Regions from separate parts of the Homo sapiens genome. Here regions 1 and 3 are each linked to region 2. The links are contacts of gene promoters, found by promoter capture Hi-C in blood cells and fetal thymus (Javierre and others, 2016). All regions are on one chromosome and are shown on one strand. The core of a region is centred on a gene start or on the middle of the fragment in contact, and the rest is flanking DNA. Distances in the headings are between cores, read along the strand shown. Region 1 overlaps PLCH1 (phospholipase C eta 1). Region 2 holds the start of PLCH1-AS2 (PLCH1 antisense RNA 2). Region 3 overlaps PLCH1 (phospholipase C eta 1).

The links. Contacts are between HindIII fragments. The CHiCAGO score rates a contact against its expected background, and 5 or more counts as called.
Region 1: a fragment that was not itself captured here is called in contact with the fragment with the promoter of PLCH1-AS2 in region 2 in 1 of 17 cell types (megakaryocytes); the score reaches 5.3 in megakaryocytes.
Region 3: a contact is called between a fragment that was not itself captured here and the fragment with the promoter of PLCH1-AS2 in region 2, in 2 of 17 cell types (megakaryocytes and fetal thymus). The highest score is 6.4, in megakaryocytes.

The regions. Positions count from the first base shown.
Region 1 is chr3:155,713,890-155,717,069 of GRCh38, forward strand. The region is part of intron 1 of PLCH1 (phospholipase C eta 1); the gene reads right to left. Among named protein-coding and RNA genes, the nearest start is that of PLCH1, 30 kb to the right of the region's middle. The HindIII fragment of the contact is 1,418 bases long and covers 1,208-2,625 here.
Region 2 is chr3:155,483,985-155,487,168 of GRCh38, forward strand. It overlaps PLCH1-AS2 (PLCH1 antisense RNA 2), which reads left to right and starts at 1,819. Exons shown (of 2, transcript NR_146955.1): 1 at 1,819-2,065; 2 at 2,977-3,137. It overlaps PLCH1 (phospholipase C eta 1), which reads right to left. Exons shown (of 23, transcript NM_014996.4): 22 at 1,372-1,726. The HindIII fragment of the contact is 1,557 bases long and covers 393-1,949 here.
Region 3 is chr3:155,696,516-155,699,925 of GRCh38, forward strand. All of the region lies in intron 2 of PLCH1 (phospholipase C eta 1), which reads right to left. Among named protein-coding and RNA genes, the nearest start is that of PLCH1, 47 kb to the right of the region's middle. The HindIII fragment of the contact is 2,832 bases long and covers 416-3,247 here.

The DNA of each region.
Region 1 (3,180 bases), core at 667-3,166, 230 kb after region 2:
CATCTTTTATTATAAATTAAAATAACCCTGAAAAACCACAAAATGAACTGTCAGGTATCAGTTGTGTAGCATTTAACTTACATGGAGAAGTGCTCATTTCCTTCTTCTTAAGCCTTGCTGAGAGATAAAAGGCAAAATTAATAAGCTCTGACAGTAATATTCATAAAACAACAAGCACTTAGGAACAGGAAGGCATAGAAAAACAGGTCTCAAAACTATATCCTGTACTTCGGCCTCTGACATAACGTATGTTTGGGAATTTTGCACCCAGGTATCCCTAAAACTTGAGAATTGAAACTAAATCCAGTTAAAAACTAAGATTTCAAACAAAGTTGCTCCTTTCTCATTTCTCCATTAATTTTAAGACAAAGTAAGAGAATTACACAGGGCAGGGATGGGGTGGGAGGGGCCAGGGATCCTCTTCTCTGGCCCAGCCCCAAACTGACAGCTTCTAAAGCAGTTCAGAAGCCTGGGTCAGGTCCAGAGGGCTCCCATGTCACCCGCCACCCAGCAGATGGCCTTCCCCACCATCAGCCCCTCCCCTACTTCCCGCAGGTTTCTAAGCACCACCAAACTGGTTGTTAAAGGCCTCTGCAAACAGCCTAATTCCACAGCCTAGCCCCCTCCCAGCTATGTACACAAAGGGAAAGAAATAAAAGGGTACTTTGTTCATTTTTTAAGGCTCACAGGAGACACCACTAAATCCCAAGTTCCTGGTGTGTTTTCTTTTCTCTAATGCAATCAGGAGCTGAAAATGCTCTGAGCTAGTTAAGCAATGAGGCGCAATCGACCCTCCAAAGACACCCGGGATGCTGCATTTGAAAGGGCTGGTTTAGAGTATATAATATGTATCCAGAGCTTGAAGGAGTCCTCTTCTGTTTTTTATGCATTACTGGACTTGAATTGCTCATGTTTTATGATTTTTACATGTATGTTCCCAAGCAAGGCTGGCCTATAACTTCCATTTCTCATATTGCTCTCAAAAGGCTTTTATATCGAAGTTATCATAGCTTTACAAAATGAGTTTCTATTTCCTGGAAGAATTAGGTTGCTAGTAAAACCAGTTGAGCCTGAACTTTCCTTTAAGAAGAAATATTTGACTACTGGTTTATTTTATTTATAAATTACAGCATTATTCAGGCTTTCTATTTTTTCTAAGTCAGTTTTGGTAAGTTATATTTGTCTAGATATTTATTCATTTTCTCTAAGCTTTCAAATGTTTTAGCATGAAGTTGTTCATAATATTATTCATATAATTTTAATATCTACAACATCTATTCTCTGAATCCTGATATGGCTTATTTGTGCCTCTCTTATTTTTAAATCAATCTCACCAGGTATTTGTCAATATTGCTAGCTTTTACAGTAATCTCCATTGAATAACATGGAATTATTACTATCATTTCCTTCCATCTGCTTTCTTTTTTTTTGAGACAGAGTCTCACTCTGTCATCCAAGCTGGTGGGCAGTGTCACAATCACAGCTCACGGCAACCTCTGCCTCCCAGGGTCAAGCAATGATTGTCCCACCTCAGCCTCCCGAGTAGCTGGGACCACAGGCATGCGCCAACACACCCAACTAATTTTTGTATTTTTTGTAGAGACAGGATTTCGTCAGGTTGCCCAGCCTGGTCTGGAACTCCTGAGCTCAAGTGATCTGCCTGCCTCAGCCTCCCAAAGTGCTATGTTTATAGGAATGAGCCACCACATCTGGCCTCTTTTTTTTTTTTTTTTTTTTTTAAGAGACAGAGTAACACTCTGTTGTCCAGGCTGGAGTGCAGTGGCATGATCATGGCTCACTGCAGCCTCAACCTCCTAGGATTAAGGGATCCTCATGCCTCAGCCTTCCAAGTAACTAGAACTACAGGTGTACACCACCATGCCCAGCTAATTTTTTGTGGAAACAGGGTCTCACTGTGTTGCCCAAGCTAGTCTAGAACTCCTGGCCTAAGCAATCCTCCCACCTCAGCTTCCCAAACTGCCAGGATTATAGGCCTGAGCCACTGCACTTAGCCTTCCATTTGTTTTCTTTGGGCCTATTTTGCATCTTTTTCTAACCTTCTAATTTCAACGTTTAACTGTTTTCAGGTTTTCATCTTTTTAAATATAAGTAATTAAGGTTAAGCATGTGTTAGCTACTTCCCCAACCCCCAAGTTTTGACTCATAGTATTTTTGTTATCATTCAGTTAAAAATATTTTCTGAATACTATTACAGCTTCTTTTTAAACCCAAGATTATTTTGAAACACATTTCTACAACTATTCATAGTAATCTTTTGGTTATAGTTTCTAGTTTAATTCCACTGTGGTCAGAGATTTAGTCTGTATGACACTAATCCTTTGATAATTACAACTTGCTTGATGACATAGTTTGAGGTCACTTTCCATAAATGTTCTAGTGTGTTTGAAAAGAATGTGTATTCTGAAGTTAGGAGGTGTGATCTTCATGTCTATCAGCTCAAACTTATTAGTTACTTCATTCAAATCTTGTGTGTTAGGCCATTCTTGCATTGGCATAAATACCTGAGACTGGCTAATTTATAAGAAAAGAGGTTTGATTAGCTCATGGTTCTGCAGGCTGTACAGGAAGTATGGCACCAGATCTGCTTCTGGGTAGGCCCCAGGAAGCTTTTACTAATGGTGGAAGATAAAGTGGGAGCAGGCATCTGACATGGCAGGAGCAGGAGCAAGAGAATACGATGGGGGGTGCCACACTTTGCAACAACCAGATCTCACAAGAACTCACTTACTATCGTGAGGACAGCACCAAGGCATGACAGCACCATGTCATCCTTCCCCATGACCCAAACACCTCCCACCAGGCCCCAACTCCAACACTGCAAATTACAAGTGAACATGAGATTTGGCCGGGACATGTATTCAAACTATATCATTCAGCCCTTGGCCCCCCAAATCTCATGTCCTCCTTATATTGCAAAATACAATAATGTCTTCCCAACAGTCTCCCAAAGTCTTAACTCATTCCAGCATGAACCTAGTCAAAAGTCCGAAGTCCAAGGTCTCATCTGGAAATGAGTTCCTTCCACCTATGAGCCTGTAAAACCAAAGCAAGTTCTCTACTTCCAAGTTACAGGGGTGGTACCAGCATTAAGAAAACATTCTTGTTCCAAAAGGCAGAAATTGACCAAAAGAAAGGGGCCACAGGCCCCATGCAAGCTCA
Region 2 (3,184 bases), core at 569-3,068:
CAAAAAATTATAAAGAAAAAATTAAATACCATATGATGTTACCACTGAGACAGCCACTGTAAGATTTTGCAGAGGAACAGAATAATATATAGAATTTTGTAGTCTGCTTTTTCTGTACTTAATGCAACATAACTATGTATTGTTTTATATTTACCGAAACTTTAATACACATGACTAATTTATATAACTGTTTTTTAAAAGTAGACAAGAAACATTACCTCAAAATTGCTTTCTAACTCACCTTAATGGTATTAACATCTTAACTGTGGCATTAACAGATAGAACCAATTTCTACTGAATATAGCTTTATTTTTCCCAAAGATGGGGTTTTAAAATACATTTTAAGGCACATGTTTTATCTCTTCTCTGACACTGCTCTTAGCAAAATTTCAAGCTTTTAAATGTTCTTTTTCTCCTTCAAATAAACCACTGAAGAATATCTTGTAACAAAAATCAATACAAGTAAAATGGTGTTTGTGGGAAAAGAGAGCACTGAAATTAGACCATTTGATAAAAGTTAAAAGAATAATTTTGCTAAAGGAAATCAGTACCACATTTTACTTGTCTGAGATGATTCTGATTTAATTAAAACATATTTGTTGCAGAGATATCAAATGCACACAGTTTTGGCGCTTAAATTTACCCCCAGATAGGATGGGTTGGGAGTCACCAACATCAGTCAAAAATTCTCTGGCACACTGCAAGGCGGTCTTCACTCTTTATTGAGCTCCTGATATGAGTCAATGATACACTCAAATTAAGGAAAAAGACAGGCAGCACCTGGTCCCTATGCTTGTGGAGCCCACAACCGTGCTGAAGCTGCAGGCACACCTCTATCTCTGTCAGCATCCAAGGATCAGGGAAGTGAGGCCACAGGAAAACACTGCCTGAGCCACATCTTGAGAAAAAAGATTTGCCTGTTTTTGAAAAAGGTGGCTCGTTTTTAACATCTGGCTTTCTTTCTCCATAAACATTTCCAATCATGGAAATGTGTTATATGGTAAGAAAAGTAATACAACTATATTCACCCTCAAAACAAATCAGTAAATATGGCACTCATTTGGAAAATCAATATTTCAAATCCTATTTTGCAGGTTTCATCTTCCTCTCTGTGCCATCACACCTAATGGCTCCCCTATCCCTCACTGTCAATTTCAGATGTTGATATTATGAAGCTCTTGGTGAGGAGGAAATGGATCTACCTGGCCCCCAAAGTTTAAAATCTTCTGGTCTGGAAGATCACATTACAAAGTATTTATTTTTCAGTATATTTTACTTTGACTACAGAATGTCAGCCACTTCATAATGGTAAACAGGGACTGACATGCAGCCTAGAAGGGTTTATTCTCAGAGAAACTTAAAGCATCTTACCTAGAGAGTTTTCTTTTCCTTCAATGTCTTTTGCTGTTTCAGATACAGGCAGCGACAAAGCTCCCAGAAGGTTTCTGTCAACAGGCATAGAGACAGGGCGTGCTTGCAAACTGCGTGTGGTCCTCCTCAGCACGCCATCTTGATCTCTTGTGGCCTCGGACACAGAATCCTTTATCTCCACCATTTCTTGGAAGCCCATTTTGCTCTTTTTCCTGCCTTTGGCTGGGGCGCTAGCTGTGCGTCGCAGAATTCTATCTCCAATGGATCGCTTCCGTACATAATGGGAATTGTTTTCTGAAGAACTGTGCCTAGGATTCTTATTGAACAGTCCCTTCAGACCCTGGAGTTGTCTGTTCTGAAGACACAAAAGAACCAACCACAAGTTAAGCAAATGCCATCACATCAACAACTTGCCTTGAAAATGACAGCTCCATGAAAAATGAATATAAACCAAAATCGTACAGCCATTGAAATATATTCAAACCAAGAAAGCAGCAGCTCACAGCATGTTTGCACAACTTCATGCACATCTTATCAACCTTACTTTGCAAGGACTTCAGCCTTCCATTCTTACATCAAGCTTTCCCAGAAGTTTCCTACCCAGAGATGACAAAGTGGTAGGAAAAGTCTCCACAGCTCATAGACTGCTATGAACTTCAGGCGCCTTAAAGCAACAGATGCATGTTTCAAAGTGGTAAGCAGGAAGATGGAGTGATATGAAAAAGCATGCTGCCATAACCACTTAAAAAGAAATATGCCAGCCAGAACAAAGCACCATGCTGAGAAACTACCTTTGTAGCTCCTAGAAAGTGCAATATAGTATAACTGGGGTTGAGTATTAAAGGGCTCCACTGTAAAGGAAAAAAACAAAACACAACAAAACACAATTGGGGCTCATTGAAGAGGGTGTCACAAGTAAACACAAAAGAAAAAATGCATACATGTCTATAAACCCTTTCTCTTAGTTTTGGGGATTTTTAGTCTTATGCTCATTCATTGTTCAACCAATATCCACTACACTGTGATGTGTGGATCCCAACCCGAACACATCTTGAAAGGAATAAAGAGTATGACTCATAAATGGACATTTATTTAGCAGAGAAGATGGAGGTGATATAGAACACTTTCAGATTTTAATTTATTTCTGGCTCAAGTTTGTTTTTTTTTTTTTTTTTTTTTTGAGACGGAGTCTCGCTCTGTCGCCCAGGCCGGACTGCGGACTGCAGTGGCGCAATCTCGGCTCACTGCAAGCTCCGCTTCCCGGGTTCACGCCATTCTCCTGCCTCAGCCTCCCGAGTAGCTGGGACTACAGGCGCCGGCCACCGCGCCCGGCTAATTTTTTGTATTTTTAGTAGAGACGGGGTTTCACCTTGTTAGCCAGGATGGTCTCGATCTCCTGACCTCATGATCCACCCGCCTCGGCCTCCCAAAGTGCTGGGATTACAGGCGTGAGCCACCGCGCCTGGCCCTGGCTCAAGTTTTAAACAAATTCAGAATGTAATTGTTTCCCTCAATGTGATAAATGCTAGAGATAATCTGTAGTTAACCTGGGATTCCTAGAATTCAAGAATCATTTTTGAATTATTTACATTTGTGTCTACTTAGATGAGAGGCAAGACCCCAACAAGCAGCACAAACAGAAATCCAGGACTAAACACAGGAAGTTATGGTATAAAACTTCACGAGTCTTAGAAATTAGGATCCTTACCCCCACCTCCACGCCCTTGCTGACAGATATGAAAATAAACTTTACACTCCCTAATTCATGCTGAAATGGTCCATTCCTTATTAGTTAGGTTGTAGTCATAATAAC
Region 3 (3,410 bases), core at 582-3,081, 210 kb after region 2:
AACAGAGTGGGAAAGACAATTGGGAAAATGAGAGAGCAGAGGAAAACTAATTGTAATTATGGAAATGCAGCTTCAAGAACAAAGGCTTAAATTTGTAACACAGGTCTAAGGGGAAATAATTCTCAGAAGTAACCACTTAAAACATGAAAGGTCTGCAAATCTGAAGGAAAAAATGACGGTTTATTATACACATTATTTCTTCTTTCTAATTAATTAGAAAATTACCAATTCCAATTGCCAATTAGAAAATTGGTATTCCCAAGCATAAAGGAATAAAACAATCAAGGGCCTTTCTGCCTGGCTGGACTCTCAATGGCCACAGGTTTATGAGAAAGAGTTGGAGAATCTCATGGAAAAAGCCATCCAAGGCTTTCACTTGGCAGCAATAGGCTTGTTTCAGAAAATTGAAAGCTAAAGCTTCAAAGAATGAACACTGTCACTTCTCATCCACCTGGGCTTCCCATACATCCAGATCTCCAATTTGCCATTTAAAGAGCACCTTTTCATCCCCTCCATCGTTGCAGAAGATAAATGACCTTGCATAGAAAGCATGACAGAGAGATCACAGTGGGTTCAGTTACTCAGAAAAATCCCTTCATTGAATTAGATTCCCGATGAGGAATAGAGGCTGATACACCTCAACATGGATTTTTATACATACAGATCATTGCTTGGGTCTGATCAATCCAGCTACATAATGCTGCAAAAAGCAAACAGAATAAAGAACACCAGTAGCTTTAGGGAAATTAAGTCGCCCTAATCTAAAATGTTAGTGAACAAGGACCTGCCTAGAGTGACTCTAGGAGTCCAAGGAGAGCTGTCAGTGGTTGGGGGGCCGGGATTCCATCCATCAAAATCACATTACCTGAGCCGCTGTTAGGCGTATAATATCGTCAATGCCCAGGGTGGCAGAGATGGCACTCTGAGGAGTGAAACTGGAGGAAACACCCCTCACCCCCAGAAAGAAGCAGGGGAAGAGCTACAAAAGAATGACTGAAGAGATTGCTTAAGTTGGTAACATAGGGGAGCAGCCCCTACAGTGTGAGAAGAGACTGTCATCAGCAGGTCTGAGAAGAGCAAGGGGCAACTTCACACCCCATTCCATCTTTCAAGTCCTTTCAGTCTGTAGAGCTCCACATGAAGAAATACGGAGAGAAGAGAAAGGGCAGGAGCCAGACAGTTGCCCCAGTGTCCTCAGGGGCACAGGAAGCTGTGCTCTAGCCAGAGGAAACTGACAGCAGAGAAGGCATGAGGCTGAAGCAAGATGGCAGGTCCTCTCAGGAGGGTCCTTGGTAACAGAGGGAGCCAGGATAAAACTGAGAATCTACAGAAGATGGAAGCAGAGGGAGTCTGGATCACCTCACCGCTGCTGACATACAACAGGGACATGTGAGACAAAAAGCCTTTGCTCTCTCTTCTTTGTACCAAAATCTGTGGAACAGGGCCTTGAATTCTCCTTCAAGGGGAAGGAGTATAGCAGAGACAAAGGAACTCCCACCCTCAACCACCAACAGCCAGGCCAGCGGGTAAGAGGGCTTAATGAATTTGAGATTAAAATTTTAAAATGGACTGGACACTTAATAGCCAAAATTAGCCAGAAAGTAATAGAACCTATCCAAGATGCTACAATGGGACAAAGTATTTTCTGAAGCATTCACTGAAGCATATATGCTACACTAAGTTGAGAATGCTCAATAAACCAGTTACAAATGGAATGCTCATCATAAAGACCAAAAAAATGAAAGAACTTTAGATTTTAAAATATAAATAAATAGCATTCACTGAGAGGCTTTCATTGAGAATTTTTTGTATCTCCAAGACATCAAAGAAGAGTATATGTTCCCAAAAGGTCATAGAACAAGTATATTTCATACCAGCTCACATTAAAGGTTTTTTCCTTTGTGTTCTAAACTAGACATAAATATCCTCTTTTGTAAGGCCTGAATGGATGGCTATGATTTCCCTCAGACAGGGGAAGAAGAAAAGGAGATAAATCAATGTGGTCAGTTAACTCACAGCAAATTCTCCAATTAGCCTGTGTTTAAAAGTAGGGTGAGTAGGGGAGGTAGACAATCTCGCATTTCTTAAAATTTTAGTGCTTAGAAACTTAGAGGTCATTTTCCATAAATGCCAGCATTTTGCTGATATGGAAAACTTAGTCCCAAAGAGAACAACTCACCCAGAGTAACTCAGCCAGTGGGAACCCCTACAAAGTGTCACACCTGGGTCAGGCCATGCTTCCCTCTGTCTAAATCTTCACCACCTGCAAGATACACCTGAACATCATAGGCCTGAAAGGATACCTGCCCTGATGCTTTCTGCTTTGGTGGCCATCAATGGGAGGTAGAGAGCCTTTTGGGTGGGGCCAATAAAAGAAATCTACCTGGCAACGCTGCTTCCAGAATTAGTTCTATTATAATTTATAAAACTTAAATGAATGAAATATATTTTCTCCCTTAAGGCCTATCTTCTTTTTTTTTTTTTTTAACTCTTCCTCTCAATTTGTCTTTGAAATTTTTCCCTGGTCCTCTCTAATAATTTAATGATAATATTTTTAATCTTTTATCTTTTTTTTTTTTGAGACAGTTTTGCTCTTGTTGCCCAGGCTGGAGTGCAGTGGCGCCATCTCGGCTCACTGCAACCTCCACCTCCCAGGTTCAAACGACTCTCTTGCCTCAGCCTCCCAAGTAGCTGGGATTACAGGCATCCACTCCCACACCCAGCTAATTTTTTGTATTTTTAATAGAGACAGGGTTTCGCCATGTTGGCCAGGCTGGTCTCAAACTCCTGACCTCAGGTGATCCACCTGCCTCGGCCTCCCAAAGTGCTGGGATTACAGGCGTGAACCACTGCGCCCAGCCTGATACTTTTAATCTTAATGATGTTCATGAAATCTTGATTGTCATTGCAATAATAGGAATTCTATGTGCACAGGTATTTTCTGGACCTAGAAAAGGAGACTTATAAAGTTATGGCTGGAAAAGCTAGGCTTTGATTCAGTAAAGAAATGCTACTCTAACATAAAATCTAGTGATGCCCCACAAACCTAAAGCAGGCAGGCTGCCAAAGTCTAATAAACTGGCTGAAATCAATTGGAACCCTAATTCACTTTTGCATAATTTCATTCTCCTTGCATATTTTCCAGTCAGGATCTGGAATTCTTCTCTTTTCTTCCAGTGCAGATGGAACTCCAGTGAGGGAGAGCTTTTCACTCTTCATTTTTGAATATAATCACATTTGTCCTGAAAGCTTGTGTGTCAGTCCTAGATATTGGTCTCTCCATGGTCAGGAGAAACCTGTGACCATTCACACACACACACACACACACACACACCACTACCTCTCTCCCCTAAAGGGAAATGCAGCATTTTGCCAGTGCAACACTAACTACAAAGTTTACAGTCCAAAAA